Linked DNA regions of Homo sapiens: region 1 is linked to region 2. The links are contacts of gene promoters, found by promoter capture Hi-C in blood cells and fetal thymus (Javierre and others, 2016). All regions are on one chromosome and are shown on one strand. The core of a region is centred on a gene start or on the middle of the fragment in contact, and the rest is flanking DNA. Distances in the headings are between cores, read along the strand shown.

The links. The method cuts DNA at HindIII sites, captures the fragments that hold promoters and counts their contacts. A CHiCAGO score of 5 or more calls a contact.
Region 1: a fragment that was not itself captured here is called in contact with the fragment with the promoter of MKI67 in region 2 in 1 of 17 cell types (monocytes); the score reaches 6.8 in monocytes.

Annotation. Positions count from the first base shown.
Region 1 is chr10:127,878,840-127,881,702 of GRCh38, forward strand. The region is part of intron 2 of CLRN3 (clarin 3); the gene reads right to left. Among named protein-coding and RNA genes, the nearest start is that of CLRN3, 13 kb to the right of the region's middle. The HindIII fragment of the contact is 375 bases long and covers 1,372-1,746 here.
Region 2 is chr10:128,124,404-128,127,679 of GRCh38, forward strand. It overlaps MKI67 (marker of proliferation Ki-67), which reads right to left and starts at 2,020. Exons shown (of 15, transcript NM_002417.5): 1 at 1,696-2,020; 2 at 1,173-1,353. The coding sequence starts at 1,264. RefSeq lists a silencer at 1,800-2,169 and an enhancer at 2,280-2,509. The HindIII fragment of the contact is 8,920 bases long and covers 385-3,276 here.

The DNA.
Region 1 (2,863 bases), core at 309-2,808, 250 kb before region 2:
GTGGGCAGTGGGCCTGGAGCACCTGGGACTGTGAGATACAAGCTCAGCTGCTGGGGAGAGGTCCCAGGGTCCTAAGAACTGGGTACGGAGACTGGGCTGCCCTGAGAGCCACAAATGCCATCCCAGGAGCTTGAATCTCATGGCATATGATGCCACTGGCAAGTGTCTAATCAGGAGGAATCTCCTTACAAAACTCATTAGAGAAGAGAACTTATTGCATGTTTATGTCTTCCCTTTTTTATTCTTCACAATATCCTCCACTAGAAAACATTCTTTTTTGTTTGTTTTGAGATGGGGTCTCACTCTCCCCTGGGCTCTGAAGTGCAGTGGTACAATCTCAGCTTACTGAACCTCCACCTCCCAGGCTCCATTGATCCTACCACCTCAGCCTCCTGACTAGCTGAGACTACAGGTATATGCCACCATGCTTGACTAATTTTTTATGGAGACCGGCTTTTTCTATGTTGCCCAGGCTAGTCTCGAACTCCTGGACTCAAGTGATCCACCTGCCTCGGCCTCCAAAAGTGCCGAGTGTGAGCTACTCTGCCGAGCCCTAAAGAACATTCTTCAGTATAGACTTGGGAGAGCCACTTTTGTCTAGTTAAAAGAACGTAGTTCTGGAGTCAGAGAGAACAGGATTGGAAATCCCAGCTAGATGAACTTGAACAAGTCATGTAGCCTTTCTGAGCCTCATTCCTCATCTTTCAAAGGGAATGAGATAGAGACAAAAAAAAAAATGTAGATTAGGGCTTTCGCGGTTGCCTAGTGCTGGAAGTGGGCTGGGAGGGGGTGATAGCTAAAGGGCATGGGGTTTCTTTTCAAGGTGATCAAAATATTCTAAAATTGGCAGTGGTAAGCCTTGCCCATGTCTGAGAACATACAAAAAACCATGGAATTGTATACTTTAATGGGTGAATTGTATGGTGTGTGACTCATGTGTCAATAAAGCTGTTAAAAGAAAGGTTTTGGAGGATAAGGATGCCTATGTTCCAGGATCTGTGATGAGGCCGGTGAGCAGGCTCACCCAGTGAGGTCTGATACGCACGGGGGCCGCCAGGGGATCCTGGCCACGGAAGCCCTTTGAGACTCCGTCTGCCGCCATGTACCCGGAACTCAGTGGACATCAAATGTATCCTGCTATAACCCACACCCAGGGAAACTTTCCAAACGGTCCATCAAAAGGCCTTAATTAGAGGGGTTTTGTATGAGGAGAATGTTTTAAACACTCCTTGATGACAGATCTTCATCCTCAATGTAATGGTTTTATTTCTTAATAATTTGTCCGTACAAAAGCCCTGACCCTCTGAAGCTCTCCAGGTGCCTCACAGCCTTAATTATCTTTCATTTTCCTCTTGTGAAGTTTCTTATAAAAGCTTAATCATAAAGGGGCAGGATGTATATAGTCTAAATGCTTTTTTCCAGAGCGGGCTGCCTAGAACTTTGATTTGAATGGGGAGGGGCCGACACACAGACACAAAATGCAAACCTGAGTCCCCTTTAGTGATGAGATGCCCAGAGCCTCTACCTGCCAGGCTTCTCCAGCCTCTGGGACAGAAGGATTTATAGGGGCTGGAGGAAGCCCCGGGGTAGATGAGGAGCTTCGGAAGGCTCACGGACCCTGGCTTCTGTCCTGGCCTGTGACCATCGGGCCCTGTGACCTCCTGATCACTTTCCACTCTCTGAGTTCCTCAGATGAGACACAAATGTATTTGGAACAGGCAGTCTGCAAAGTTGTCTCTGGCTCCAAGCTTCTCTCAGGGGACAATTTTATCCCCTGAGGCCAGGATACAGCCTCATCAGGTCAGTGTGGTGTAGAAGGTAGGCTGAGGTCAGAGGTCACGGGAACCTAGGAAGTGAGACTGCTGTTTGTCTCCTCAAAGCAGAACCTGCTTCTTTCTGTCAGAAACAAGCCAGGAAACCCACTTCCTTCCCTACCCAACATCTGCTGGCCAAGCAGAGGTAGTTCAAAACCAGCCGCTAGGAGTTTGGAGCACTTCCTTCTGGCCCCAGGACTCCCAGAAGTCAGTCTGATCATGCTGTCCCACAGCCATGACCCAAGGCAAGAATTAAGACATCTCTGTATACAAGCCCTTCTGCAGGCTGAGCCTCCTGGAAACTGAGAGTTTCAGTAAGTTCTCCAACCCTCAAAGCTCCTGTGAGAAAATCAGGAACCCCCAAAGGGCTACTTTGGGCAAAAGTCAGGCCTATCAACACTGTTAGGGTCAAGAGGCCTCAAGGGGCATTTAGAGGAAGCTAAGCTGTGCTGAGGCCTTCTCCCAGGCAGGCATCAGAATGCAATCTGCTCCTTACACATCAACCTCTCAGGTTGTTTTCTGCCCACCTCACAGCCTCCCTCTGTGTGTTAGAACTTGCTCCTGAGCCAGGAAAGGAAGGTGGCAGGAATTCCCTCTCCGTCCAACAATTCTTTGTGGATAGGAGTAGGCAGGGCTACGGGGAGGCTCTCAGGTCCCTGTTTCTCATGTTTTCCTTCACAAACATGCATGAGGCCTCTGCTATATGCAAAGCCAGCCCATACTCTGCTGCGGAGGAGCAGAGATATGGAGCCACAGCCTAGTGGCAAAGGCAGTGGACTTTGAACCCTGCAGGCTGTAGACACAGCAATGCTGGGTCCCTGTTGTTCGGCCGGCGCCACACCTGGCCCTCTACTCTGGTCCTGGCGCCTGTTTTCCCTCCAGGAATGCAGGCTTCCTTCCCCACTCACCCCTGCGGCTGGGGAAGGGCCGATTCCAGCCCCAGCTCCAGGATGGGCAGGTAGCCTTGGCCCATTAGTGGATGGCTTGGGGAATTCAACCCTGCCAGCCACAGAGATTGGTCAAGGGATGGGAGAAGGGCAATGCCAGTG
Region 2 (3,276 bases), core at 770-3,269:
CACCCTGACCTCTCCTCCGCGATGACAGCGCATGCCCCTGTCCTATATTGTGACATGGAAATTCAAATGAATCCTGGAAGGTTAGATGACCCTCCTGTGAGAACCACTGTTCTCAAGAGATTGCAAATCCATGGCTCCAGCCCATGTTTCTACTGACCCTTGCCAGAATGCTAGGTATTGATCACACCCCCTATGCCAGACACCATCCCTGGCCCTACACACGTGATTAGTAACAAGACAGTCTTTGCCTTTGGGGAGCTCAGCCTAGTGGGAGACAAACCCACAACTCACCCCTGAAGCTGTGGGGTTGGAAATACAAGTTTTCATGCAAGGCTTCCTCAGAGGTGACATTTCACCTGATGCCTGAATGATGGAAATCACACAAGCTTGAGGAAGGGGAGAACTTTCCCATTGTAAACTTCCAAGTGTGTAAGAAGTACCAAGGTGAACAAAGGCTTGGAATGCCTTAGGCGGGAGGAACAAGGTAGGGGATGGGGTTGGGAGGACAGGGTGAGGCCGGGATGGGGTTGGGAGGACAGGGTGAGGCCTGAATCCCGTGTGGTCTGGGAAATGACCACACGGGAAATGACCCCCCTTCTCAGGCCTCTAGTGGGACACATGTCAGAGGCTGATGGGGCACTGTCAGCAACTATACCTGTTATACAGGGACAGGGTTATTACCACCACCAAACAGGACAGCAATATAAGAGGAAACGTTCTCGAATTCCAGGCAGGAAGACTTTCTGTCCCATTTTCCTATTGCCACAAGGAGCCAAGAGACAAGTGTATGGCTTCCTTCCTTCATTCTCTGTGTCCCCAGTGGCCAGGGATGCCCACTGTGGAGGCACCCGGGGGCGCACAGTGTCTTCAGACGCCTGCCTGCAGCCAGTGACATATGAAGATCATCTACATCTTTCTTTACCGCAACATTAGCAAATCGATTTTTTTAATTGGCTTGATTTTTAAAACCACTTAAACATACAAACTAGCATCAAATTTATACTTACAAAACAAAAAAACACAACTATGTCAACTTAGTAACGAATGGGAGAAGCACCAAGGAAAAGTGACGGCAGGACCCAATCCTAGAGCGCGTTTCTGGACTTTATTCTGTGACTAAGGTATTTTCCTCTTTCTCAGCTAAAACGTCCGCGCGCGCCCGCGGGGCTCACCTTCCAAACAAGCAGGTGCTGAGGCTCAGGGGAAAGTGGGGACCGTCGACCCCGCTCCTTTTGATAGTAACCAGGCGTCTCGTGGGCCACATTTTCTAAACAGTAAGTTGAGTATAATCCGTAGGGGAAGGCCAGGTATAATCCGTAGGGGAAGGCCAGAAGCAAATTTACAACTCTTCCACTGCAAAAGAGGTGCGAGTTACTCTGATAGCAAAGGAGCTAAGAAGGGCCCCGTGCCCAATTCACCTATCCCCGGCCACAGAAGCGCACACCGCAGCTAGCTAGCGGGGACCCCAGGACGATCCGACCGCAGCCCCCGGCGCCCCAAAGTCCGGCAGCTGGGGTGTTGTCGCCAGCGCCTGCGCCTCCTGGGAGCTTCCACCGAGACGCCCTCGCCAGAGCCCAGGAGGAGTCGGGCCCAGGCCGCGCGTCTGTCCCCTGCCCGTCCCCGCAGAGCTCGGGGGGTCCCCGCGGCTCAGCCCTCGACCCCGGACAGCTCCCAGGAGTCCCGGCCGCAGCTCACCTGGGACGATCCGGCCCGCAAGGCCACTTGTCGAACCACCGCTCGTCAAGTCGCACCCAAAGTCCGCCGCAGGAGGAGCCGGCGCCGCGCTCACCTCCGCCCGGTAAGCTGCGCCCGCCACGCTCCGCACACACCGGGCCGCAGCCCGCGGGGTCGCGTTCGCTGCACCCCGGCCTGCAGTCCCCGCTGCTCCCGCCGCCGCCTCTGACGGGGACCCGGTGGCCCTACAGGCTACGTCCCCGGGCGCCCGGCTCTAGCGGCTCCCACCGAGTCGAGTCCTCCCGCCCGCCCGCCCGCCCGCAGCGTCAGCCCTCCACTTCCTTCTTCCAGCCCGGCGCGCCCGCCCAATTCAAACGAAAACGAAGATTCAAATTCTGGCGCTAAGCGCTGCGATTGAACGGGAAAGCGCGGCATGGGACCAATAGGAAGGGAGCGCAGGGCGTGGGCGGGGAGGGGGCGGGGAAACCGGGCTCGCGGGGCGGGGCTGGCGTGTCCGCGGGCGAGCCACTCACGCATCCGGAGGAAAATACCTGGGTGCATCCCCGGCGAGGGCGGCTGGCGGAGGGCAGAGGTGGAACACGCTCCCACCGAGATAACCCGTCCTGCTATCCTTTTCTTAAAGGACCAAACATCTGGGACACTATAACATTACTCATTGCCAGAAGATTTAAAACTGCTAAAAATTAAAAACAGGCGGGACGCGGTGGCTCACGCCGGTAATCCCCGCACTTTGGGAAGCTGAAGCAGGAAGATCCCTTGAGCCCGGGAGTTCAGAACCAGCCTGGGCCACCTGGAGAGAACCCATCTCTACAAAAAATTCGCCAGGCGTGGTGGCGCCCCTGTAGTTCTAGCTACTGGGACAGCTGAGGTGGGAGGATCGCTTGAGCCGGGGCGGTCGAGGCTGCAGTGAGCTGAGATCGCGCCACTGCACTCCAGCCTGGGCGACAGAGCAAAGCCCTGTCTCAAAAAAAAAAAAAAAAAAAAAAAAAAAATCGAAACCTTCCTCTTCAGTGCATACATCTTACCAAACACAAAAACAACCAATTATATAAAGTAGTTTGGTGTGTCTTTTCCTGCTATACGTGTATTCTCTTTTTCAAAAGCACAGAAAAAAAGGTCATAACATACACAACACGATTCTATACTTTGTGCTCTCTGCTTTTAAATATCCTGAGGCTATCTCCACTGAACACATTCTCGCTTTTACTCTCTGATGGCTGCAGAGCACTGGGCTTCGGGAAACCATAATTTACTTAATCATTACTATTGCCACATACTTAGGTTTACAATGTTTTGTTATTAGAAAACATTCTTCAATTGAAATGGCTTGTGCATGCCAAGATGGGTGAATCCTAAAATAATTCTACACAGGATTCTATCGGGGTCTGCTTCAGTTGCGCTGGTGGCCATGTGGGCTCAGTAGGCCACCTGGGGTGAAGTGAATGGAGCCTAAACACGCTTTTGGTGACAACGGCCTCTCTGCCCCATCTCACCTCCTCCAGCTCCCCAGCAACCCTTGGAGCTTGGCTCCCTTGATCAGGGAGGCCTCGATGCAGGGGACCCCTGAGGACTTCCTATTCC